Regions from separate parts of the Homo sapiens genome. Here regions 1, 2, 3, 4, 5 and 6 are each linked to region 7. The links are contacts of gene promoters, found by promoter capture Hi-C in blood cells and fetal thymus (Javierre and others, 2016). All regions are on one chromosome and are shown on one strand. The core of a region is centred on a gene start or on the middle of the fragment in contact, and the rest is flanking DNA. Distances in the headings are between cores, read along the strand shown. Region 1 overlaps LINC00880 (long intergenic non-protein coding RNA 880). Region 2 has its middle 17 kb from the start of LINC02029. Region 3 overlaps LOC101928236 (a long non-coding RNA gene). Region 4 overlaps LEKR1 (leucine, glutamate and lysine rich 1). Region 5 overlaps LINC00880 (long intergenic non-protein coding RNA 880). Region 6 has its middle 8.1 kb from the start of CCNL1. Region 7 holds the start of TIPARP (TCDD inducible poly(ADP-ribose) polymerase).

The links. Contacts are between HindIII fragments. The CHiCAGO score rates a contact against its expected background, and 5 or more counts as called.
Region 1: a contact is called between a fragment that was not itself captured here and the fragment with the promoter of TIPARP in region 7, in 12 of 17 cell types (activated CD4 T cells, total CD4 T cells, naive CD4 T cells and 9 more). The highest score is 13.3, in activated CD4 T cells.
Region 2: a contact is called between a fragment that was not itself captured here and the fragment with the promoter of TIPARP in region 7, in 15 of 17 cell types (total B cells, naive B cells, M0 macrophages and 12 more). The highest score is 23.1, in total B cells.
Region 3: a contact is called between a fragment that was not itself captured here and the fragment with the promoter of TIPARP in region 7, in 9 of 17 cell types (total CD4 T cells, naive CD4 T cells, naive CD8 T cells and 6 more). The highest score is 9.2, in total CD4 T cells.
Region 4: a fragment that was not itself captured here is called in contact with the fragment with the promoter of TIPARP in region 7 in 5 of 17 cell types (naive B cells, total B cells, non-activated CD4 T cells and 2 more); the score reaches 11.1 in naive B cells.
Region 5: a contact is called between a fragment that was not itself captured here and the fragment with the promoter of TIPARP in region 7, in 12 of 17 cell types (naive B cells, non-activated CD4 T cells, total B cells and 9 more). The highest score is 10.9, in naive B cells.
Region 6: a fragment that was not itself captured here is called in contact with the fragment with the promoter of TIPARP in region 7 in 14 of 17 cell types (naive CD4 T cells, activated CD4 T cells, naive CD8 T cells and 11 more); the score reaches 15.7 in naive CD4 T cells.

Annotation. Positions count from the first base shown.
Region 1 is chr3:157,115,887-157,119,460 of GRCh38, reverse strand. All of the region lies in intron 1 of LINC00880 (long intergenic non-protein coding RNA 880), which reads left to right. Among named protein-coding and RNA genes, the nearest start is that of LINC00880, 5.3 kb to the left of the region's middle. The HindIII fragment of the contact is 3,533 bases long and covers 554-3,574 here.
Region 2 is chr3:157,062,903-157,066,683 of GRCh38, reverse strand. No RefSeq gene overlaps it. Among named protein-coding and RNA genes, the nearest start is that of LINC02029, 17 kb to the left of the region's middle. RefSeq lists an enhancer at 1,910-2,039 and a silencer at 2,310-2,389. The HindIII fragment of the contact is 1,431 bases long and covers 1,329-2,759 here.
Region 3 is chr3:157,182,986-157,186,832 of GRCh38, reverse strand. The region is part of intron 2 of LOC101928236 (a long non-coding RNA gene); the gene reads right to left. Among named protein-coding and RNA genes, the nearest start is that of CCNL1, 25 kb to the right of the region's middle. The HindIII fragment of the contact is 9,450 bases long and covers 1-3,847 here.
Region 4 is chr3:157,042,574-157,046,211 of GRCh38, reverse strand. It overlaps LEKR1 (leucine, glutamate and lysine rich 1), which reads right to left. Exons shown (of 13, transcript NM_001004316.3): 13 at 83-872. The coding sequence ends at 462. Among named protein-coding and RNA genes, the nearest start is that of LINC02029, 37 kb to the left of the region's middle. The HindIII fragment of the contact is 971 bases long and covers 773-1,743 here.
Region 5 is chr3:157,097,836-157,101,403 of GRCh38, reverse strand. All of the region lies in intron 3 of LINC00880 (long intergenic non-protein coding RNA 880), which reads left to right. It overlaps LINC00881 (long intergenic non-protein coding RNA 881), which reads right to left. Exons shown (of 3, transcript NR_034008.1): 2 at 1,823-1,921; 3 at 269-718. Among named protein-coding and RNA genes, the nearest start is that of LINC00881, 9.7 kb to the right of the region's middle. The HindIII fragment of the contact is 353 bases long and covers 1,080-1,432 here.
Region 6 is chr3:157,166,269-157,170,261 of GRCh38, reverse strand. No RefSeq gene overlaps it. Among named protein-coding and RNA genes, the nearest start is that of CCNL1, 8.1 kb to the right of the region's middle. The HindIII fragment of the contact is 212 bases long and covers 1,263-1,474 here.
Region 7 is chr3:156,672,839-156,676,360 of GRCh38, reverse strand. It overlaps TIPARP (TCDD inducible poly(ADP-ribose) polymerase), which reads right to left and starts at 1,771. Exons shown (of 6, transcript NM_015508.5): 1 at 1,565-1,771. TIPARP-AS1 (TIPARP antisense RNA 1) reads left to right here and starts at 648. Exons shown (of 1, transcript NR_027954.1): 1 at 648-3,190. RefSeq lists silencers at 686-1,045, 1,416-1,485, 1,516-1,565 and an enhancer at 1,976-2,275. The HindIII fragment of the contact is 8,735 bases long and covers 118-3,522 here.

The sequences.
Region 1 (3,574 bases), core at 1,071-3,570, 440 kb before region 7:
TTGAGGGACTGGCTCTTTCAGATTCACTCATGTTTCAACTCTGCTGTTTATAAGTCCTCTATCTGTGTATACAGGCCTAGAGGTCCCAGGGCCGGATATAAAATTTCTCTGGACAGGGCCTGCTCCATAACCACCTTCACATGCTGTTCTTCAAACATATAGAATTGGGTTGATAGTGGAAACAATTTCAGGTACTTTAACCCAATTCTAAATATTCTAAATTTTAGGTATTTTAACCTTGGAATAATATAATTTTTTCTTCTTTTTTCTGTGTATAAAAAGACGTACATAGTTGATATGACACTATGTAATGTAACTCATAGATCACTATGTAATTTTGTACCTGCATTCATTCAGCATTTTAACATGAATTAATATTAATATTTTTCCATGTTAACTCTCTATGTAAAAACCATTTGCAATAAGCATTTTTCCATTTAGTAAGCTACCTCATATTTTATTAAATTGTTTTTCTACTGTTACACATAAGAGTTTTCTCCAGTTTTCCACTATAATAAATAATACTGCAGTGAACATCTTTCTTCCCAAAGCTTTTTTTGTTCTTTTTTTTCCTTGCTTTTGGTTTACCTCCTTAAAAGAATTCTGGGTCAAAGGTTATGAACATTTTTCAAAAGACCTTTGTTGTCATGATGGCAGAGAGGCAGCACTAAAATAGTTTGGAGCAATAGGGATTTCACCAAAATAGCTATGATTGATATCTGGAAAGAAAGACAGAGAAAATAATGGCATGGGAATCTTTCTAGAGTTTTAGGGCCTTGTTCTGATTTAAAAAAAAAAAAATATATATATATATATATATATATATATATGAAAGGAAAATAAATCTTCGGGCCCCCAAATCACTAAGGGAATAATCAAGCTGGGAACTGCTTAGGGCAAACCTGCTTCCCATTCTATTCAAAGTCACCCCTCTGCTCACTGAGATAAATGCATATCTGATTGCCTCCTTTGGAAAGGCTAATCAGAAACTCACAAGAATGAACCGTTTGTCTCTCAAGTATCTGTGACCTGGAAGCTCCCTCCCAGCTTCAAGTTGTGCCGCCTTTCCAGACAGAACCAATGTACAGCTTATATATATTGATTGACGTCTCATGTCTTCCTAAAATGTATAAAACCAAGCTGTGTTCTGACCAACTTGGACACATGTCATCAGGACCTCCTGAGGCTGTGTCATGGGCATGCATCCTCAACCTTGGCAAAATAAACTTTCTAAATTAACTGAGATCTGTCTCAGATATTTGGGGTTCACATATATATGAATATATGAAATAATTGTATATCTTAGAGTCCCATTCCTGGAAGTTTAAACAGCTGTACTCATAGCCCACACTTAAGTAGAAAGTTGGGAGAATATCTGACAGTATGGGTGACAACTGCTTACTCTAGGTGCAGATTGGGGCTTCTCAGGCAGCTATTGGCCCCAGGGTAATTAGCCTTCTGGTGACTACAGAAGTAGAAAGTAGAGATCTCCATCTACTTTACAGTTGAAGGCACTGAGTCTCAGCACACCCAGTTCAGTGGTTGTTAACTCTGGTTGCATAGTATAATCACTTAGGGTGATGAAAAGACATCCAGAAAAAAACATCCAGGATAGATCCTCAGATATTCTGATGTAATTGGTCTGAGGTGAGACCCAGGCATCATTACAATATGAAAGCTCCTTGGGTGATACTAATATGAATTAGGATTGAGAAGCTCTGGTATAGTGGGAAAAATATGGGCTTTGGAGTCACTAATATCTGATACAGCTCCCAGCTTTGCCATTTATTGGCCATGTCATTTTGAGTAAATTAATGACTACTCTCTGCTAAGGGTCCTCATTTTAAATCATAAAGTTGTCACAAGGGTTAAATGTAATAACATGCAAAGTGTTTTTCAAGGTTTCTGGAACATGGTTGGTGTTAAAAAAACGTTGGGTCCTTTAGTATGTACCTAAGGTCCTATAGCTAGCTGATGGTTCTGGAAAGCCATCCAGAACCGTGCTGTGCACTCAGTGAATGCCTGTGGATGTTCCTTGGTGACATCATCTTTGAACATGAATATGGGTGTTACTGAGACATTTCGAACACCACATTGAGTTGGTGTTCATCAGAACAATAAAGCCATACCTCATAGAGATTCATCTCATTTGCTGAATATTAATTTGCCTCCTATTTTTAGTTCTTCAGCTAAAAAGAAACCAATTTTTATTCTGCTAAACCAATTGATTATGATGGAACTCTTGCAAGAAAAAAGTTAAACACTGTTACAATTACATAAATGTATGGAAGTCTTTGTGTAACTTATGTAGTAAGCTGAGGATATAACAGTTAAATTGTCCTTTAAAAATTTTAAGACCTGCCCCACCCTCCACCCCCAGCAATGAACGATTTCACTTTTCACCAGCTTTAACCTAAATGCCTTTAGCCTATTTTCTTTATCCATCCTATGATAGACAGAAGAGTTAGTGAGAACTGGATTTGATTTCAGAAGACCTGGGATTGAGGCTTGGCTCTGTCATTCACTGGGTATAAACCTCGGGCGATCATTCTTCTTTGCCCTTGTGCCTTCTCATGAATGCAATGAGCACCTGAATAGCATGACCTGACTTTAGCATGAAGTGAGTTTAAAACTGTGATGCTGACCAAGCAGGACATGGTTATTTAACACTTATTAAGCACCTCCTGTATGTCCAGCCCTCAGTAGGAAACCTTGCGGGAATTATAAAGCCCTGAGACTTTTATAGAGTAACTTGGAGTCTAGCTAGAAGAGATAAATCTCATGCATGAAGAACAACTAGGACCAGTTTCCACCTGAGAGCTGCAATAAGTCCAGCCCAGTTGACTCATGGAGGAAATAAGTGGAACATTTAAGAAATGACAATCATGGAGAAACGAAGGGGTGTCAAAATTGAATGTCCTGTCCCTTAGTGCTTTATTTCTCTTCAGTCTCTGACACAAAGTCTTGGATAGTAATAACATGACACAAAACTCCTTCAAGTTAGATAGGGCCAGGCATTTTTCTAACAGCACATTCCAGAACTTTGTCTGTCCATGTCCTAAATCCTTATTATTTTGCCCAGTTTTCAGCAGTCTTTTGCAAGCTCCAGGCTTTCCCCCACTCCTATTTAGACCTCATGTGCCTCTGATAGCTCTGGACAGAGCCCATACTGTGTGGCGGACGCACAAAGGGGACACAGTATGCAAATGGCGGTGTAGGAAGCATCGAGGCAGGAATGTTTGAGCTGTGCCATGTCACAGATCATTTCTGAAACAGCAGTCCCTGAGCTGTGAGTCACAACCCTTGTTAGGGGTGAACAGCTGATGAGGCTGGTGTCAATTTTTGTCTGACCCCATCCTAAGAGCAACACCCCAAGTACTTCAATTACCCATTTGTAACATTCTCCCAGCAGTGGAGAAAGGAACAACAGTGGCAGCCCACACAGTGAACCTCAAAAGTAAAGCTCTCTGAAGTATGAAGATAGAAGAGGAAGTTTGGGAGACTCACAATGAAAGGGTTTAACAAAAACTGCCTGTGAATGTGTTGACTTAGAAACTATTGGAGCATTGGCAAT
Region 2 (3,781 bases), core at 795-3,294, 390 kb before region 7:
ACTCCACCTGGCTGCTCTCACATTTGACTTCTTGTATTCAGATTTGGAGAGACAGCTGGGAGCCTCTGATGAGAAAATAAAAAATTTACAACAATAAGCAAGCTGTCCTCTGACACCAGGAGAGGAACTCGCTTCAGCCCTGGCAAGAATTGCAGCTGGACTTTGTGAGGCACTGTTTCATCAGATGCCAAACATCATAGCAAGGGCAAGAATGACAAGAATTACAGTTTCTGCCCTGATGCACAGGTACTGATGGAAGAGATATTTCTGTGTTGATTTTGCACTTCTCAGGGCAAATCTGCAAAATAGATATCAAAGGAGATGTGGGCACTGGGCAAGGAGCCACACCAATCAACCATATAGAGCAGTCTGGAGGAGTCTCTCCCCATCTCCAACCCTCAGTTTTTCCCACCTGTTAAACACAGGCCACAATGTCTGTGCAGCCACCTCGCAGTGCAGTTAAAAGAACCGGTTTAAACAGTGTTTCTTAGCTTAGAGTCAATGGCTGAACAGGTTGCAGAGGGGCTGTAAAATCCTGAAATTTGCATGAAGCAATTTTTCCATATATGTCCATGTGCATCTTTTTGAGGAGGGGTTTGTCGCTTTCACTATATTCTTAAGAATATAGTCACTCTTAAGAGGTTAAGGGCCACTGTTCTAGGTAATGTGTGAAGGTGATGTATGTGTCCTGTAATTGAGCTATTATCAGCAAGCTTTTTGAGGAAAAAGGGACACAGAGGAGCACTTATTATGTGTTAGGGACTGTGCAGGACACACAGAGAATAGAAAAAAAAATGACCCTGGCCTTCTGGAGCATATGATAGACTTTAGATATGAGCCCAAAACAGATTAAAAGTTAAAAGGAAAAGCTAAGTGTAGGCAACACAGGTGAAAGGTCAGAAGAATGTAAGTGCCCCATAGAAGGAGAGAAATGGACTTCCAGCTACAGTGGGTTTAGGGATGGACACAGAGCGAGGGTGGGATTGAGTACAGGGAAAGGCAGGCAAGAGCATCTGTGGAAGAGGGATGGCCGGTGCAGCAGAGCTTGCATGCTGAGTTGACACGCTCCATGCCAGAGACCCTTAGATTGGGACTAAGTGTCACCGAAGAGAAGGCTGCGTTCAACAGATAGTTCTCAGGGTGACAGTTCATCCCAGGTGCCCTCAGACCCACATGACCTGCTCTTGGTCCTTCAGCCTCCGCTCTGCAGATGGGGCTGAGGGGCCCACCCAGAGAAGCCCTGTGGGGGAGAACAGAGCCTGCCCAGGACAGATATTCTCCTCCTTAGGAGCAAGTCCTCTTGACCCCCATGTTCCAAGCAGGAAGCTTTTCACATGTAGACTTTCTTCCTGCTGTGATGCACAAAAGCAGCCTCTTGCCAGTTAACAAAGTCTGCTGGAGCCTCCTGGGGCCATGCCTAGCACATCGTTACCCGAAGCAGACTAGGCAAACAAAGCCCTAGAAAATGAGAAAAAATGGAAATGATTTGATATTTTAGAAAAAAATATTGAAGTGTTTATCGTGGGGAAAACTGGAACCCTGTTAATATTTTTACTAGTATTGTATGGCATGGCAGTTTCTAAATTCTGCATGTGGTGGGGCCACTGTAACTCTTTCTGGGCAGAGTACTCTGTGATGATTCTACTCAGACCCTGGCTCCACAGACTGGCAAGGCCGCCCCTTCCCAAATCAGCAAGTGTCCTGGACCAAATGGTCATTTCTCCACTCCTCTGGGACTCTGAAAGAGCATTCTCCAGAGCTCTTGGGATCTTGCCTTGGCTCTGTGGATGTAAAGATCCCAAAGTCTTTCTAGAATGTACTCTTGAAGACTGAGTTGACTCTGGAGATCAGTGTAGGATCACTGTCCCCACTTTGCAGCCCCAAACCCACTTCCCAAGGGAGTAATTCATTACCTGCAGTCCTGATTACTCAAAGGAAATGTCTAATGACGTCTGCTCTGCAGTACCCAAGGACCTGAGACCAGGACTCCTGGCCTCTTTTCAGAAAGAGTGGAGTCTGCCATTTCCTGACCACCGCCCTGTCCTCAAGGGCAGCTCATCTCCCGTGTTACATTCCTGCATGAACCCCCGCCCTGATCCTGTGACTTGTCATGTGCCACAGTGCCATGAGATTTGTGTTACTTTGCTTCTGTTCCTGAAAGTTATCAGTTCCCCTTTTCTTCCTATCACTGCCTGGCTGAATGATGAGGGTGCCTGAGGGGAACTGGGTTTCTTCTTTCTGTTCGCGGGTACCAGAAGCAGCACACGCAGGGCCAATGGCTTCAGTTATAGCCACTGGGATGAGGCGTGATTCCTACAAGCCAGGAGAGAAAGACAAGCCTGAGAGATTTTGTCTCAAGGGAGAGACCTCTTGGGGAGAGCCAGCTTCCCATTGCCCCCTGTACTGATCTGGTTTTAGCATTCCTCTCAAACAAAGCCAGGCAATATCTTTTGGGCTCTCTTTTCTGCACTAGGCTCATCAGATGGAGGAGGGGACTCTGGCCCAGCAGAAGGCAGCAGGAGTCTGGCTTTGGCTCTCAGTCAAGACTCCTTCCAGTTCACTTGCTCCCTTGTTGTTTTTAATCAGTCAAAGCCCAGAGCTCCAGATGAAAAAGAAGTGGGGAGGGAGAAAGGCTAAACCTCAGTTCAAGTTAAAGCAGGATTATTTATTTTAATTATTTATTCATACCAACTTCCAGCACAGCACCACATACACGATGGCTGGTATTTAGAATTTCTCAGTCGTGTCTGATCAAAGCTTAACAGTTCCTGGGTCTCTTCACTTCCACAGAATTCTACTTTGGTGGGGTGTGGTGGGGTGGGGAGGCAGGAGTTCGATGTGGGAAATTAATTTGGGCTCAGAGATTAACAATGGTTAAATCTTAGTGTACCTCACCTGCCAGGTAACATGGTATGGTAAACAGTTTTGGTTTTGGCTGGCTGTGCCCTGACCTACCTCTAAGAATTACTTATTCTACATATGGAAAGTTGTTAGTCAGGGTGTCTGCCTTTCTCTGGCCTGGGGTAATGCATGTGAGCCACATGAGGTCGGTCAGATCCTCCTTCCTTGGAATCTGACATTTGAACAAAGTCATCAAAAGATGGAAACCAACTGGAGCTCATTTGTGATTCACAGTTGTGTAGCCAAGCGACCCCAATGAGGAGGTCCTAGGTCTTGATTCTGTGCTGCTTCTTGCCTATGGCGTCACCCCGGTTCCTGTTTGTTCTTTCCTAGTTTCTGGACCTGATTTCCAGTTGAGCTATTGAAAGATCAGCTGTTTTTCCAGTAAATTCCCTTTTGATTTAGATGAGCCAAGGTCAGTTTCTGTTGCTTGCTACTCAAGGAGCTCTAACTACACCCACAGTGAACCTTTGTTTCTCAGAATCCCTTTAGTCACACACAGGTTTCAGAATGGTGCCCTAAAATTGTGCTAGAAGCAAATAAAATCTTTGTGTTGACTTGGACTGTGTTGTAATCATTTCCTACAATTTATTTCCTTAATTGCCAAGTTCCTACTGGCTATTCATTGATTGTAGTTTGTAGCCTGTCTTTTGGTTTCTTTCAGCATTTTTTAGTTCATGTCACGCTTGGCCAAAACTCCCCACCCCATTCCTGGGACCAGGCTTGCTTTCCTCATGGTCTGCCGCTTGACAATCTCCAGGCAGAAGACACTCAGATACCTGCTAGGGAAACACAAACCCGGACAACATTTCTATAAGCCACATTAGAAAAACTATCAGCAAGAGCTTCTAAAATGTTCTTTCTTTTTGAACTAGTTATT
Region 3 (3,847 bases), core at 301-2,800, 510 kb before region 7:
ACCATGCTGGCTAAGCAGTGTGGAGTGGACGTGGGCAAATGAGCGCAGGCAAAGTGACGCGAAGGAGGCTGCAGTCAGGGGAGGGTGTGGGTGGGTTGGTGCACGTCGGCACAGGCTGCTCTTTTGGAGCTCTCTGATGGTATGACAACAAAGGATCTATGATATGGATTCACAAAACGCACCCTAGTTGGGCATCTGAGGCTGCACTGCAAGCAGACTTGGACAGGCCAAGAAGAGGCTAGCAGACAGTGGGGCACTCAGATAAGACTGCTCACATCTCACAGGCAAGACTGTCCTGCTCTGTTCAGGTCCGATAGTTTCTGTAAGGCTAAACTCTCCTAGGGGAGCATGGTGAGCCTTGAGAGATGGGCATCCCTGGTCATGCTCCACTTCAGACACTCCTGCACCAAACCCCCTGGGCTCCTTGCAGGCTGGAGTCCTGCCCCTACTACCTCTCTAAACGGTTATCCTTGCCAGCTTAAGTGTCCATGGGGGTCATGGGGTCTTTGGCTGCCAGGATTCCAGAGGTCCATGGTAAGGGTGGGTCACTCCTTGCCCATTCAACTCATCCCTTCCCCAAGAGTCACTGGGGGCCAGGAATAAGTCCTAGTGTGCAGTAGCCCCATGCAGTGTTCCCAGCTTCCTCTCCCTTCAGCCCAGTATCTGTGTCCTCCCTCTGTCCACTCTTAATGCCTTTCCTCCAAAGATCTGTTAAATGTGCACCAGTCTTCCTGATGTCCCGGTCCCTCAGTGACAGATGTTCTTCCTGGCTGCATCTAGTTGGCCATCTTGAATCTTAAATTTCTTAGGGATAATAAAGGTAATTGTGGTTAAGTGTATTTAAATCACCAGCATGGGTAATAGAAAAGGAAGAAGAAAAAGAAAAAGACTTTTCACCAAAAAGTAAGTCTGAAGGAATGAATACTTTCCAGATGGGAGAAAGGGCATTCCAGGCCAAGGTTACACAAGTAGGAAGGTACAGGATGAGGACAAAACATGAGTTCTTTCGGTCATTGGACAAACATTGTATGAGGACTACTATGGGCATAATTCTTAGCACTGAGATTATGTGAGAGCAGTGAAGAAGCACTGAGAGCAGTGAACAAGGGCCAACCTCCCTGCCTTACAGGTTTTGCATTCTAGTGGTGGGGGTGGAAGGAGGGAGGGCTGGAGAGGATAGATAATAATGATGAGTGGAGAGCCTTCTAGGCAGAAGAAATTCCCTACTGACGTGACCTAAGGAAAAGTGTGTCCAGGTGTGTTGGAACAACAGCTGGGAAGCCAATGTGCTTGGAAGGGAGAAATCTATGAGAGAACAGCAGGAGAGAAGGTTCCAGAATTACTGAGAGGGTTTTAGGACATGATTTAAATTTTGGCTTTTATTAATAGTATGAACTTATTGAGGAGATGAATGGGATGAGTTGACCCAGTGATAAAGCTGTTAAAAGGATCACTTTGGCTTCTGTGTTGAGAACAGACTTCAGGCAACATGGGTAAAGGCAGAAAAGCCAATTAAGAGGCCACTGTGTCACAGCTGCTGATAGGCTGGGAAAGGTAAAGTGTGAGAATTAACCAATGGTAGAGCAGTCACAGTGACCTTGATAGGAGCAGGTCTAGTGATGCAGCAAGGGTGAAACCTGGTTTGAGTGGGTCCAACAAAGAATGGAAAGAGAGGAATTAGGAAAATGTTGAGATGTGTCTATTCCATTTAGTGCTGCAATAAAGAAATCTGAGGTCGGATAACTTATAAAGAAAAAAAATTTGGCTGGGTGCAGTGGCTCAGGCCTACAATCCAAGCACTTTGGGAAGCCAAGGCAGGGGAATTACTTGAGTCCAGGAGTTTTGAAACCAGCCTGGATAACAGCAAAACCCTTTTTCTACAAAAAATTAAGAAATTAGCCAAGTATGGTGGCACGCACCTGTAATCCCAGCTACTAGAGAGGCTGAGGTGGGAGAATCACTTGAGCCTGGGAGGTCAAGGCTGCAGTGAGCTGAGATGGTGCCACTGCACTCCAGCCTGGGTGACAGAGCGAAACCCTGTCTCAAAAAAAAAAGAAAAGAAGAAAGAAAAATATTTTATTTGGCTCACAATTCTGGTGATTGGAAAATTGAAGACTGGACATCTGCATCTCAAGCTGCTTCCACTCAGAGCAGAAGGCAGAAGGGGAGCCAGTGTGTGCAGAGATCACGCAGCCAGAGAGGAAGCAAGGTAGTGGATGGGGGGCAGGGGGTGGAAAATGCCAGGCTCTTGTGAACAACCAGCTCTCCCAGAAACTAATAGAGTGAGAACTCACCATTAAGGAAGGGCACTAAACTATTCATGAGGAATCTACCTTCAAGATCCAAGCACCTCCCATTAGGCCTACGTCTCCAACACTGGGGGTCAAATATCAACATGAAGTTTGGAGGGCACAAACAAACCACATCCAAATCATAGCAAGGTGTTTGGCTGTGAACAAACAAAACAAAACAAAAAAAAACAGAAAAATGGGGCAGTAACTAGAGGAGATGAGAGATCAAAAGAGAGGCCTGATTTTTTATTAGACAAAGTAGAGATTGTGTATTGATGAACAATCCATTGACTGATGATATTAACTGATTGATATGGATTAATATATAATTAATATCAATTGAGTGAGTTGGGAGTCTGTGGCAGGTGGATCACATGAGGCCAGGAGTTTGAGACCAGCCTGGGTGACAGGGCGAGACCCTATCTCAAAATCAATTGATATTAATTGATAATACAGAAGGAGGGTACAACTGCTGCTGTAATTACCTTGAATAAATGAAAGAAGAAGAGCCATTGGGCACAAATGAAAGGGTTGCCCTTAGCTAGGATCATGGACAGTCTACCCACAGAAACATCAGGGAAGGCAGAGTATGTAGACCCAGGTGCAGAAGGTGAGTGGACAGCTGGTGAGGGCCATGGAGGTCTATTCAGATCACTTCTGTTTTCTTAAGGAAACTGACAGAGTGATGATGGGAGAAGTATGAGAGGTCAGAAGAAAGAAGGGAAGGAATGAAAACTAGGTATCCAGGAGAGTGTGTTTATTATCAGAAGGGTTATCTAGGAGAAGGTGAATGTTCCAGGGAAATATGTGGTTGCCACACAGAATTAAGAGTCCACTCAAGGTTGGGGTCATTTAGAGTGAGCCCAGGAAGCATGGTTGTGTGTCTTTCTGCAATTATATTATGCTGGGTGGGTTTAGTTGGGTGCTGAGATTATGCAAGGGAGTGATTATAATGACTGATCATGGAATTTAAACCAGGTAAAGAGAATAGTGAGAATATAATGTGGGGTGAAAAGAACTAGGAAGAGTGAGCTGCAAAGATTAGAAGTGGTAAAGAAAGACTGAGATGATGGCTTGGATGTGAGATAACACAGTTTAAAGTAGGTCCATGGAGTAGAGTGGCTGCTACAGAGAGAGAACAAAATTGTTGGAAAAGGAGAAGTCAAGAAACCATGAAACGTGGCTCCTGGAAGATCATCTACTTGGATGCTGAAATCAGGTGTCATTTCAGAGAATGGCAGTGAACCTGAAGGTAAAAATCTTCAAAAAACCAGGGAGAAGAACTCAGGAGGTTCATGAACAGAGCATGCCAATCTGCTAACGTGAGACTAAAAACTGGGGCAGGTAGGGTGGAGGGGGGAAAAATGGTCCAGAAGTGACCAGAAGGAGAAGGGAGGACTTCCACTTTGCTTCAGAGCGAGGGGTAGGAGGCCTGTGAACAGCTACACTAGAGAGGGCCACAAGGGAGCAGCATCCTCAGGACGAGCAGAGTTTCTATTACAGCAAAAAGAAGACTAGAAGGAATTTGCTTTGGATGACCAGGTTTAGCAATACTA
Region 4 (3,638 bases), core at 9-2,508, 370 kb before region 7:
AAGTACTTTTTTTTTCTGTTTGGAATACTTATTACATCGATTTAACCTATTCGGCTCAACAAACAAATGAACACATACCAACAAATCTCAAACAATCTATTTTTTTGTGGAAATATATCTGCTTGTAGTGGCGCAAGAAATTGAAAAGATGTTATGGGTGAAAAATTTTACCTGTGATCTCTAAAAGGCTATATTCATAGAGCACATTCCAACATAAACATAGAAATCGGACCTCTGGAATACCAACAACTTAATGATCTGTTACTCTATCAAAACCCTCTTGAAAAATAAGGCTTCACAATTTTCCAGCTTTTTACAGTCTTTTGTTAAATACATCTATAGGTATGCCTTCCTGATCTGTGAAAATAATTTTATCATTGTCATTCTCAGTTACAGTGAATTCCTGGCACTCTCTGAAAGAGCGTGCACGCTGTAGGGAGCTTCCTGCTCCTCATTTTGGATCATTGCTGACTCCGCCTTCTCCTAAGAATGGCAGCCAGTCTCTGTCTAGTCTCATTTGCTGAAGATGCTCCACCCCTGGGAGGATGTGGCTGGGGGAGAATGGGCACGCCTGATCTAACCCTCTTCGGCTTATCTGAGGTTGGGAAAGTGGTGGGTTTTGACACCCCGCGCAGGTTGGGAATTTGGATTCCTTTTTCAGAGTTCAGTCTTGCAAGGCTTCTCTCTCCATGATTACTGACTGCTGCAGCAGGGGAGGTTAGGCTGCCCTTGCTGAGGGAACACGGTGAGAATGGTAAACTTCCACGAAGCTTACTGAGCTCCAGGAGCTGTTCTCTGGCTTGACTCAAAGCCTCTGTCAGTTCAAAGCGTTCTTCACATTCTCTACGCACTGTCTCCTGAAGAAAAGTATTCTGAAAAGAGAGAGGGGAAAAGAAAGCAGACTTAGCTTTAAACAATGTACATAAGTAGATAGTTACGGACAATACAATTTGAGAACAGAACTGGAAATCAGAGGTCTGTATTCTTTGTCTCTATGACACTCTACCTCATGGGACAGACAAGTCAAGAACAGAAATAATCTGTGATGGTGGAAAGAAGTTGAAGAAAATATTTGGTTCAACCCTTGCAGTTTGCAGATGAGGAGTCAAGAACTACAGAGACTGAGTGACCTGTCCAGGGTTACTCAGATGTTAGTGGTGCGGCTGGAGTTAGAACTCAGGACTTCTTATACCTAACTTCAGTGGAGTTTCAACTTCTCTGCCTCAAGTCGCAGACAGTATGCTCTGCACATGTAATACTCAATAGTTAATAGCTGTAGAGTCATTAAATATATTCTTTTGTAGTGAAGGTATACTATAATAACATAAACAGGTAAAAGTGCTTGAAGTATAAGATTGAAAGAATAAAAAAATCAGCTATAGCGTTGAAACAATAAAATCAGTTCTCATATGATGCTTTCTCAGTGGAACTTAAATAAGAGGCTCATTTGCCATTCTGTAAGATAATATCCCAAAATAGAGAAGATCTTCTGCTACTAATTCTATTCATTCAGCAATCATTTACCAAGTTACTAGAAGCTGTAGTGAATACAGTCCCTGCCCTCAAGAAGTTTGTACCTTCGTAGGTTTGAGCAGAACTGCCTTTTATGTCCATAATAGAATCTAGACCCAAGGTGAAAACTGTGGGGATTAAAATAAGGAAGAACTTTTTAATAGATCTATCTGGAGGACACTCAAGGGTTGAATCTCACTTGACAGGGATGTACTGAAGCAAATTTAAGCTTCAAATGTGTGACTGGACTAGAGATAATTAAGTCTCTTCGAAATTCTGAAATTCTGCATTTCTAGTTGAGGTGTTACCTATGTTTTGTCTATGGAATTCATCAAAATTATTTCAAGTCCCATGGTAAGAATTAAGTCTTGGATCTCCCCAGTGTCCTGACATTCATGTCTTTATGATGTCAAAAATGAGGCTGAAAAGTAAATAATTCAAAGCAGTATCCTAGTAAGTAAACACAAGTAAAATGAGTGTGCTATAGGATTCATCAACTCAAAAATGAATTTCCATTAGGTTACCTTGTTTGTAAAAACAGCCAAGGCATTCCCAAGTCTGCTTCTTAGTGTAAAACATCCTCCCTAAGGGTTGACTGACTAATCTGCTGTCAGAAGAACTAAATAACAAAGCACCAGGGACAGTAGTATCTTCCTGTTTTTGAGTTTCTCATGATTATAGACAGAACTCTATTCAATTCCAAATTTGGTAATCAAAATGGAAAAATATGGAGCAATTCCAGATTAGCCAGTTGCACAGTAATTTTTTATAAAAGCTGCATTCCTGGGTCAAACAAATACTCATCATTTACATATACGATTTATTTACTACATGACACACATTTTAAAAAAATCATGGGTTAATCACTTGCTTCCAGTTATTTTTATTTTTTGGAGGAACTGGAGAGAGCAAGGATGGTGTTTGTGGCTTTATCACCTAGTTCTCATTAACTCTAGTGGAAACAGTTGTGGAAAAGGCAGGGGAGGAGGGAATAGAGAGGAAGATTAACAAGGCACCATGTTAGGTGTCATCTTATTTCCTGCTCCCAACAATTATATCTGACGAATAAAGACACTGAAGCTCACACTGTTATGTAACTTGCTGAGAGTAACTCCACTCTGAAGTAGTAGCCCTGCTCACTTTCAGAGACCTGCTCCATGCTGCCTATGCCTAAATTAGTTGTCTAATTCATTACGTCAAACATGCAGGGACCATTTTGTTCCCAGGACACTGAAAAAAAAAAAAAACACAGAAGGACATTTTCATCTGGTTTTGCCCAGGTTTTCTAAGTTCTATTAATCAAAGTTTCTTTTAAAGTGGGGGGAAGACCCAATCCATTATATTTTTTGCCTACTAGTAGAGTAAGCTGGCAACGTGTTGGAGTTATTAAAGTGGTGTATTAGTCCATTCTTGCATTGCTCTAAAGAAATACCTGAGACTGGGCAATTTATAAAGAAAAGAGATTCAACTGGCTCATGATTCTGCAGCCTGTACAGGAAGCTTAGCCACTTCTGCTTCTAGGGAGGCCTCAGGAAGCTTTTAGTCATGGTGGAAGGCAAAGGGATAATGATGCATCTTACATGGCGGGAGCAGGAGCAAGAGAGTTGGGGGGAGGCCCTACACACTTTAAACAACCAGATCTCATGAGAACTCATTCAGTATCACAAGAACAGCACCAACAGGATGGTGCTAAACCATTCATGAGAAACTGCCCCTATGATCCAAACACCTCCCACCAGGCCCCACCTCCAACACTGGGGATTACAATTTGACATGAGATTTGGGTGGGGACACAGATCCAAACCATATCAAGTGGCTTGGTTTTCAATAAATTAGTATAAAAATATCACTAATTAAGAAAGCAATGAGAAAGAGTTAATTTTATTTGAATATGTAAAAGAAATAAAGCAATGAAAAATGAGGCCAACATATTACTGACATGAATAACAGGCACAACAATATGGAATGATAAAGTGATGGAGGATGTGATGACAAGAGCTCTTCTTAAAAGAAAAATAAATTCAATCAATTTACTAAGATTAAATTCAAGTCTCAAAGGAAAGGAGTAATGATCTGGAGAAAACAACCAAAAAGCAAGTCACATAAAAGCTATTTCAGGCAAGTGA
Region 5 (3,568 bases), core at 7-2,506, 430 kb before region 7:
TCTAAAGTAACTCAGGTGGAAGGCTAGGGAGGAAGGTTCTTTGAGACTTTGAGTGCAGGAATGCCTGACACCAGAAGCTGTGCTGTCTGTGCTGTCATGCTGCCTCTGCGACTCCAGGTTTGGGGCTCATGTCCTTTGGTTCACAAACCAGCCTTGTTTATGCAATAGTTTGAAGCAATCTCTGCCTTCTGAGATGATTATTAAGTGAAATCAGCCTTCTGTTTGTGTTCGTTAGCTTCGCCGCCATAACAAAATACCACAGACTGGGTGACTTAAACAACAGAAATTTATTTTCTCACAATTCTGGAGGCCAGAAACCTGAGATCAAATTGTCTGCAGGGTTGGTTTCTTTGAAGGGCTCTCTCTGTGGCTTGCAGGTGGCTGTCTTCTCCCTCTGTGTTCATATGGTCTTCCCTCTGTGTGCATCTGTGTCCTAATCTCTTCTTATAAGGACACCAGTTATACTGTATTACTGCCCACCCTAATGACCTCATTTTAACTTAATTACTTCTTCAAAGGCCCTGTTTCCAAATACAGTCACATTCTGAGGTACTAGGCGTCCATATATGCATGGCGGCGGGGCACAGGAAGGGGACACAGTCCAGCCTATAACACTATTTTTAGAAACTAGATAAATTATCACTCACAGCAGATGAATCCCATATGCTTGCTGGCTTGTTTCTGCCCCAGCATTTTTCAAAGTGTTGTCCAGGACCACCTGCAATCGAATCACTTGGGCTTTTAGTAAAAATAAGTCTGCTCCAAGCCCTTGAGTCAGAATCTGGGGCAGAGGAGCACAGGGCCCAGGGATAAAGCCTACTTGTATTTTACATTCATACAAAGATTTGGCTTAATTAAAGGGACTTGGGAAAAGCCAGGTAGTGAGGTATGCCGCCCCCCCCAACCCCCGCTGCACCCCCACAGCCACTGTAGTCCCCCAGGTAAGGGCAGCCGAAGGAAGAGCACGAAGGAGGGAGTCAGGCAAGTGTGAGTCTGAGCAGGGAGCACCATGCATCTGAGGCCTCCTCTAGTGTGGCTCACTGGAGGGCCACGAGAGAAGCTCCTTTCCACTCAAAGCTTGCCTCCCAGTACCAATGAATGCCCCCACCCTCACCCCTTTCAGTAGATACAGGGGACTTTGCAGTGTAGATGCCAGGAGAGGCCACAGGGGAGGCCACCTATCCAGAAATGCCTGTGTTCCACAGCCTGACAAAGATTCTAGTCATTTCCCTTGGGCGGGATTCCCCTACCCCTAACCCCCAGCTCCTGGCAGAACTCAAAGATCCCCCTGCCTCTCAGAATGGTGGAAGACCTGTGCCTTGAAATAATGTTTAAGAGACAGGAAATAGTGTCATTTTTCCCAAGCCAAATGCTGAACCAGGGAGCAGAGGTTGAGGCAGGTTCACATAGTCACTGACTCTGCTCCAAAGCTTCCTGCGATGTGGGTAAGCCGGTGGGTCATTTGGCTTCCTGGAAGCTGATGTACGGGAAACAGGATTGTCATACACATGGGTACAGCCTTTGAATCACGTCCCAGACAACCAACGTGAGCCCTCTAGAGTGGGTGTCTGCTGCAGGTGTACGTGTGTGTGCACACCCATGTCCCACGCCTGTGTTAGGGTGGCCACCAGCCTCTCATGTCAAAAATTCTAGCAAAACAGCTGGTGAGTGGGACTGTAAATGATAGTGATTTTCCTAGCACCATGACAACAAGACACCATCAAAGCTAATGGCGCTAATCCATCCCTCGTATTTCTCTGCTGGTTCTGGCTTAGATTTTGTTTCTTAAAATACTTGCCTGGCTGGCAAGGCAGTGACTCACCTGCACCAGGACTGAACAGAACAGGCAGGAGGTATTTTCTTCTGAAGAGCTGTCAAGAGCCAATACAGCACCTGAGGTCTTTCATTTCACACGTTGTTCCTGTCAAGGAGGAGACATTCTTACTCTCTTGTCAAAGTTGGAGTTGCCAAAGAAAGCAAAGTGGTTAGAATGTGTCAAACTTTGGCATTTGTATTAAACAGAGTTTGAGGAAACCAGGCAGGTTTGACTGAGAATCTCTTCCTTGTCTTCCATCCAGTGCAAGATAGGCCACATTTTTACAGAGAACTGTCAAAAAAGAAAGTTCACATTAGAGTCACTCAGCTCCACGTGGGTCCTCTGGTGGCATCTCTCTCAGTGTCAAATCCTAATTGTTAGGACTCCATGAATCCTGAGTACTTCAATGATTTAAGAACTCTTCCGAAGCTGGTAATTTGGAAATTGCATTGTTAGTAAATATGAATTAATAAAAAAGCAAAGTCAAGAATTTTACTGGCAATGAAACTATGTTTACTGGTCATCTCTTAATTCCATTTGAATTCCACAGGCCATAAACTGTGGTATATTGCAAAATACCCTGAAGTCAGACGTGGATTCACATCCTAGATTTGCTGCTTATTAATTGTGTGACTTTAGCCGTTACTTAGCCTCTCTGAGTGTCCATTTCCTCAGCTGTCAAAGTGGGAATGATACCATTTCCCAAATTGTATTGCAGTGAATATAACAAGAGATCATGAGTGTGAGAGATGCTAGTACAGAGGCTGGCCCATAAATGCTCATGTCTTTTCCTGTCTGTTGTTTTTTTCTGTAACTTAAATGAGCATCATTTCTAGCTAACTAATGTTTTAATGTTGACACATTTCAGTAGATGGTTTTCTATACTTTTAGAATGTCATAAATGATTCTCCAAGAAGTAGAAATGACTAGGATACAAACCCTGAGACCAGCAGTTGCCAAAGTCACAAGAGGTGATTTGTATGGTCCAGACAGTGATGCAGGAGCAAAGCCTCCGTTTTGACTTTCAGAGATTTGGGAGCAGTGAGGTGCAGTGCCCTTTGGAAAGGTCAGTAGAAATGCTCTGTGAAATGTGAAAAGGTGGGTGCCAGCTCAAGGGGTGCCAGGTGAGGTCCCACTGGAAACCTGCCTCCTCCATCCCTGCCTCCCTGTCCTCAGCAGCACCCTTTCATTTTCTAGTTAGATCGGCTCAGGTCCCAGCTGACTCCTTCTGGATGTCCAGCCACAGACATTTGTCTTTGTCTCCAGCACTTTGAGTCAGAACCACAGGTTTTCGTATTTGCTGTGGTTTTTTTTTTTTTCTGTCATTATTGTATTTGTTTTGGTCTTAGTTTTCTACCAGACTTTAATGGAAAGAGACCAGGTTTGAGTCCAGCTGCACCCCTTATTAGCTGGGTTATTAAGGACAAGTCACTTCACCTCTTTGAAATGCAATCTTCTGATTTATATGTGGGGATCCTACATTATTAAGTTGTTGCAAGAGCTAACGTGACTAAAATTCACATTGAAGTATTTTGTAAACTGTAAAGTGCTGAGAAGAAAAGATAATTTCAAACCCCTCTTAGCATGTATACTTTACTGGAACATATACATGCTCAAAGATATGTGTTAAGTTACTTTTTGATTAAAGATATTTGCTACAAGAATGTTGTCCAATCCCCAAACACACCAGGAGATGTTCTGAGCATTCTGCAATGGTTCCAGTGGGTTCCCTGGATGGTTTGTGAGGGAATT
Region 6 (3,993 bases), core at 119-2,618, 490 kb before region 7:
TCTTTAAAAATTTCAGCTGGATGAGGTGACTCAGGCCTGTAATCTCATCAATTTGGGAGGCTCAGGAGTTTGAGACTAGTCTGGGCAACACAGTGAGACCCCATCTCTACAAAATAAATTAAAAATTACCCAGGCATAGTGGTGCAAACCCTGTAGTCCCAGCTACTTGGGAAGCTAAGGTGGGAGGATCACTTGAGCCCGGGAGGTCAAGGCTGCTGTGAGCCATGATCATGCCATGGCACTCCAGCCTGGGTGACAAAGCAAGACCCTGTCTCAAAAAAAGAAAAAACTAAAAATCATTTTACTAATATCTTTATTGGATTTTTACAGAAGTATCATTCCACACTAGTTTCCCAAATGTGTTTCTTCACTATAGATTGAGAAGCATTGCAACAGAGAACTTCAGAAAGTAAAATATGAAAGCCTCCATCCCACCTACCTGTGTTCCCCAATTTTCACCAAAATGATTTTGTTACCTTCCCCAAAGGCAGCAGCATCATATCTAGCCTTCCAAATATATACATATTGCTTCCTTTTTTCTTTTTTTTGTTAAATTTTGAAATGAGGTCTCACAATATTGTCCAGGCTGGCCTAAACCTGTGACCTCAAAAGATCCTTCAGCCTCAGCCTCCCAGGTAGTTAAGATTATAGGCACATACCACCATGCCTGGCCAGATATATACATATCTCTATATGATATATACATAATGTTATACAAAAGGTATCATACTATACATGTTGTGTTGGAACTTCCTTTGGTTCACTTAATAATATATCTCAGAGATCCAACCTTTTATTTTATTTTTTTTTTTAGAAACTTTTAAAGAAACATTCCCAATGCCTAGAATAGAACCTGGTACTTAGTTGTCAATTAATAAGTAAGAATTTAAAGATGAATGAATGAAGACAAACTGTTCACAGCTGGCAGATCAAAAATCCCTGGCCAGAACAACAGGCATTAACCATTGACCAACACCACATAGGGAATCTGCATTTCCAAGGACTGGAAAATACATGAATTAATCTATAATCATTTTATGTGCTAACAATTTTTTGTGGTAGGTGTTATCATTTTATTGGTGAGTAAACTGAGCTTAAATAATTGCCTAAATAAGCAAATTAATTTACCTCAAGTCATGTAGCTTTGGATGGTATTTTTTTTCCCAGTGGAGGAATAAATACGCATTTCTTCTCTTCACCTGCAATTTTCACTGGTTGTCCCACGCAGAATCAGAGTCAGGAAAACTGTACGTAGAGAAGCTTTTATCATTTTATATGTTCCTGTCTTACAAAGCTCCCTCTGGCTTAAGGCTGGTGGCCCACATCTGATAACATTAAAAAACATAATTAATATGGCTTATCTGATTTTCCAGTGCTATTGAGATAAAGATATTACTGAAGTTTACCTTTACTTGAAGAATCTCTAAGGTCACTGTATATTTTCTAGGGCTGCTGTAACAAGTTACAGGAAGCTTGATGGCTTAAAACAACACACATTTATTTTCTTATAGTTCTGGAGGTCAGATGTCCTAAGTCAGGTTCACTGGTCTGAAATCAAGGTGTCAGCAAAGCCAGATTCCCTTGATGGGTCCTGTTTAGTTATCATGCTGACAAGTATGATTTAGTCTTGAATTGCTGACTAAAACCAAGACTAGTTCGTTCTGACATTAAATACCATAAAGAATGAATCTGTCTAAAGACTGACTTGATTAGATTATTTGCAATCAGCTAATATTTATTATCTACTATTTGCAAGTACCTCTTTGGACCTTAGTTTTCTTGTGTGTAAAAAAGAGAGACTGAACTGCATAATATTAACTTTAGCTCTAAAAGCAAATTTGTGGGTTTGTTGACTTTATAGTTGTTTATGAAATTGCCTTTGGCCATACATCTCCGTCACATATACCCAATTTCCAGACCTATCTCCAAAACTGTCCCAGAGCCTGCGTGTATACCAGACACCAAAACCCTTCACCATACTGCTTTCTGTGAGTTTCTACCCACTCCCCAGCCCCCACAATATACACAATCTCTTTGGTTATGGCAATTCCAACAGGCCTCTTGTTCTGCAGCCCGTGCCTGTATGGAGCAGAAGTTATGGACTATTTAAGTAGCCCACTGTAAGAAAACAAAGAACAAATGTGGAAACACAGCTGATCTGCTACAAAGTGCTGCAAAGAGAACAGGATAAATGGGGGCCCTGGACCCTCTATTAGGGAGAGAGGGCTGTATTGGTAGGACAGACACGTGAGGATAGAATTAGCTCCTGAATGGAAAAGAAAAGGCAAAACCAGGTTGTCTTTGAAAGGCACTAGGAAACAAGTGGGCAAATTCAGTCCACGGGTGCTGATTATGTGCTTAACATACACACAGTGTCTACCAGGTGCTGTAGAGGATGCAAAATAAATGTAAAATGGTCTTATTTTTGTCCAGACATACACCCATGATAAGATCAGTAATAACGTTTAATAGTAAGGAAACATGTCAAAATACATACCAGAGGTCATAAATGCTAGGAGAGGCTCTGAGAAAGGAGAAAATTAGCATAAGTTAGATTAGGTGGGGGAAGGCTTTCGGCAAAACGTAGAACATCCCAAGTCTCAAAAAAGTTGCTAGGATTTGATTAACAAGGAGGAGTAGTAAGAATTTGCAGGGTTGAGAAATAGAAGGAGGGAAAGTAAATAACATGTTTGTTAGTGAGCAGACAGGTCCAGTTGGTCTTGGTTCAGGCAGAAACACAGTGGGGAATAAGGTGAGGTGGTAATGTCACAAGGAAACAGAAGACAAGGTAAATTTAGATTGTGGAAAGCCTCAACTGCCAAAAGATATTTAATCTCTATCCTTTACACTTGATCTTAGTCAAAAGGCCAAGAAGTCACAATCTCTATTTTTTATCTCCAAAGTTTTTATTCAAAAAAGTGAGGTAGGGAAATTGGTATTTCAAAAAGATTGAGAGATTTCCCAGGACAAATAAGGATGGGAGAAAATAGAGACAAGGAGACCATTTGGGAGGCTACTATAATGGTCCAACCATGATGTAACAGCAGATGTGTAGCTGTGAGAATAGACAGAACAGGGAGATTCAAAAACAATTTCCTTCCTAGAAGGAAGGACCAACAGAACTTGGTGATTAACACAAAAAGAAGAAATAAGAACCAAAAATGAGTCTGAAGTTCGAGATATGTTTATGACCAGAGACAAATAATTTTAGACCTGCAAGGGTCAGACTCCCTCACTTTAAAGATGAGAAAACTATGTTTGCCCAAAGTCTCAGGACTAATTCTCAACAGAGTCAGCAGCAGAATTTCCAGGCCAGGGCTATCAGGAGATGTACCAGGCAGCGTATGCCTAAGTGTTCATTACAAATCATTTACAGAGTGACTGTATTTCTAATGAAGAGAACAACCAGTTCAGAGTGTGTGTACTCATATAACAGAGAGGTCATGTTTTATAACAGTCATTTAACTACATGAACAGCTCATGCATAAAGTCAGGTGCTCCTCCCTGCCATCAATAGAAATGTGATTAGCAACTTCTTAAGGTTATACCCTCTCCATAATGGCAACAAGCATGACGACTTATCCCTTCTCTGCCTGCTTTTTACACTTGCTGGTCACCTTAACATTTGTCTTTCTGTGTATTGAGTGTAGCTCCTTCTAGCTGGGGACTTAATTTGCCTAAGTTTTGGTGGCAAGGTATTAAATTCCTGTGGTCTACTGGTGATTGCTGAAGAAATTAATGGAATGATGCCAATTGTGATTTTAAGATTAAAGAACCTGAAATTTAAATAATGAAAACCATGCTCCCCAGAGAGGATACAGAGTCTAGTAAAATGAGAACTAATTTAAACATCAGGTGTATCATTCTTCAGTAGCCTCAGGTAGGCCACTGATAATTCCACTTGTCTCTTCAGTTGTCACTGGAAGCCTGCCTGTGTTGAAACAGTAATATGTAATGATATGTTTACTTATCATTGGATTTCCTTTTAGACAT
Region 7 (3,522 bases), core at 522-3,021:
TCAGAAAAGTAAAATACAAAGCAGTTTATAACGAAGTATTAAATTTACATGATAAGTACAAAAGGAAAAGGCAGAAAAAGGAGAGTTCACTGTAAGCTGGCATTGTTAGGGAAAGCTTCACGAAGAAGGAGGGATCTGACATGAGACATAAATCAACTGGAAAGGAGCCAAGCCAGGCGTTATTATTCATCATTTGGTGTTATTGCCTCAAGGCACAATTGGCACAGATTGTGGTATTCCCTCTCCACCATACCAAACCGGCCTGTGCTTTCCCCACGCGCACACTCTCTAACCACTCCTATCAAACCCAATCAAGGTAAAATAGACACTAAATCGATTTTATTTATATGTGTGTCTGCGCGTACACACGCAAGCGCGCGCGCGCAACTTTTCCTATTATTGCCCTTTCATCAAACTCGGAAACAAAACTGGGAGGAAGAAGCAGAGAACTGGAGAAGTGGCTGGAGGGGGAAAGCCACTAGAACCTAGCTCCTCAATTAGTTTTCATAACAGAAAAATAAAGATGAGAAGAACACATCCTCCGGTCTCCAGCGGCAGGCGACACACCGCGACACCCCTCACCTCGTGACGCTGGGGTTCTGCGGCACTCCCGGCCAAAAGCACTTTCCGAAAAAACTGCCGCTCCAAAGCCTGCCCGCCCGCCGCCGCGCGACACCCCGGCGCCGAGCCCGGGTCCGAGTGACGCCTCCTGTTGGCCGCGGCGGTTTGCTCAGCTCCTGGTCCCGGGCCGCGCCAACTCCGCGCAGTGCAGCTGAGGCGCCGCCCGGCTCTGCAATTCCGGGTGTTCCCGGGCGTCCCCGCCCCCGCCTTCCCCTCAGCAGGCGCCTGGGCGCCCCCCAACTCCTGTCCAGCCTCCTTCGGACCAACGACCCGCCCCGGCCTCCCTGCATCCCAGAGACTACTCGCGGCGCCTTCTCTCTCTAATTCTTCTTTACCCCCTCAGCTCACCTCCCGAGGAGCGTCCAACGGGTCTTGGGGGCTCGCAGAACTGAGCCGCGAAGCGCGGGGGAAAGGCGGCGAGCGCTTCCCGCGGCGGCGGGGAGGAAGACGAAGACTTGTGCGCTCTCAAAGTTAATGTGAAAACATCTTCCAAACTTCTGGGCTGCAGCCCGAAACGCGGGGTAGCCGGAAGGCTCCCGTAGCTGCCGTGCCCTCCCCCCCGGGGTCTGGGAAGGGCTCCTAGGCGCCTCAGAGCACCCGGGGTCGGCCCGCGGGGGAGGCCGCATAGACGCGCCCCCACCCTGACGAACGGGGAAGGGGCAGGCGCCTGCGACCCCAACTAAATCCTTCGGCGCCTCGGTCTGATGTATACACCTGCCACAGGCTCTAAGTGCCTAAGAAGTGTAAACCAATTCCATCTTCATGCTGACGGGACCCGAGTGAATTCGGTACAAAGGGCAGTCTCAAAATCAATCACCCCGATCCGCGAGAGCCCCGCACACTGCCGGCGCGGGGCCGGGGCCGGGGCCGGAGCCGCGAGGCCGGCGCTCGCACTCCCCGCTAGGGTTCTTCAGCCCCTCAGTGCCCTCCCGGAGCCCTTTACCTGAACGGGAGCCTGAGAGAACGGACGACAGGAGCCGAGTGGAAAGCAGTGCCCGCGCCGGAGATCAGCGCCGAGGGCGGGAGCCGACGTCTAGGGACCACAGAGCCGCGACGCGGCGAGCCGCGCACGGGCCATTCCGCCGCCGCGAACGCAGAAAGCCTCGACCGCGCTCCGAGTCCAGCCAGCTCGCCTGTCACCTCGATCTCTGCTTTAAGTGGCTTCCGGTCGCCTCCTCCCGACGGCCCGTCGCGGAGGCGGAGCCTGGGCGGCCGGAGTTCGGTGGGGTGGGGTGAGGAGGCCGGGCGCTCAGTGGGTGTCGGGAAGAAGACCCGCCCCCTGCGCGCGCGTGCGCGTTCGTTCGAGGGGAGGCGCGCGAGTTCTGTGCGGTGGACTTATGCTCCCGCGAGGGGGCGTGTCCTTTCTCGCGTCCGCAGTGTCCCTGAGGGTCCGCGTCTACACGCGGCTGTGAGGAAGGAAGGCGCGTGCCGCGTGGGACGGGCTCCACCTGCCTGCGGACAGATGGAGGGTCACTTTGTTCCGAGAAGACCCAGACACCCGAGGGAGGATGTGAAACGGAACGACCCGTTTCGGTGCGGTTGGCTTTGTTTATTTGCCTACTCCCCAGACGCCTCCAGCCTCTGATTCCGGCACACCCTGTGAGGAAGCAAACGGCTGCCTCCCCCACTGCCACCAGACGAGGTCGCCTGCCCCGAGCCGGACAGGCTGGACAGGCTGCGCACCTGCGGCGGCCGACTATTTCGTGGGCCTTGTACGCCACCTTGCAGAAGGGAAGCTGTGAGGTTTTGGCGATAGAAGCGCATTTACTTGTGTTTTAAAGCCCACAAACGCCGTAGTGACTAACTTATTCATTCAGCAAATGTCTGTCAGAGCGTCTATTACGTACCAGGCATGTAGCCTGAACTTCACGCCTGTCCTCATGGAGCTTGCAGAGCACCTCTGAAATACACACCACATACGGAATGGCCATATTTTCTGGGTTGTAAAATACTTTGAATTGTAACTCCATATATTGAATAGATTTTCAGTAGTGAGGGAAGAAACAATACATTTAGTTCATATAATCCATATGTACGAAAAAGAAGTGCTGGTAATTCCAGACATGGAAGTCAGTAAAACTAGGAGCTAAGAGGTAATAATCATAGACATTATGATTCTAAGCCTTTGTTAAACGGTTCTAAACCAGACTGGGTAAGCGCACCAGCAATGAATAGATTAAGGGTGTTATCTCCTTAGCAGCTTATTTCAAATTGCATCAAGGCAGGGCCATTAAACTAAGGTGAGAATGATATGGGCGGAATTCAGAGGACAATAGGTAAAAGATGAAAATCTTTACATTTAAAATCTTATTGAGACAAGATCTTGGTCAGTGTCTACTCATACATAGAATTGCCTAGAAGCTAATATTTGAGTTTACCATATTACTGTTGGCTTTCTATTTTTCTCATTTGTTCTGTTTCTTTTCTGTCCTTTTGTGCCTTCTTGTAGATTATTAATTCCACTCCCTTGTAACAATTAGGTTGTTATACATTCTTTATGCTTTTAGTAGTATTTCAGTTATTTATTGCTGTGTTCAAACCACCCCCAAAATATAATGACTTAAAACAATGGCTCTTTTATTTACTCATGATTCTGAATTCTCTGGCACAGGAATTCAGTCAGGGCATAGTACAGGTGGCTCATTTCTGCTCCATGATGTCTGGGGCTTCAATTAGCGTGGGCATACTGGGGCCTGGCTGGAATGGCTTAACTAGGGTCATAAGTCTTGGGACTTAAGGATGGAGATGGAGTTTCATGACAAAAATGAAGTGAACATGATGTGGAAAATATGGACATGGAAGCCACGAGCTAAGGATGCTGGAACAGAAAGAAGGCTGTTAGCTACATACCTTGGTTTTTCTCTACATGGCTTCTCCATATGGCTAATTTAGGCTTCCTCA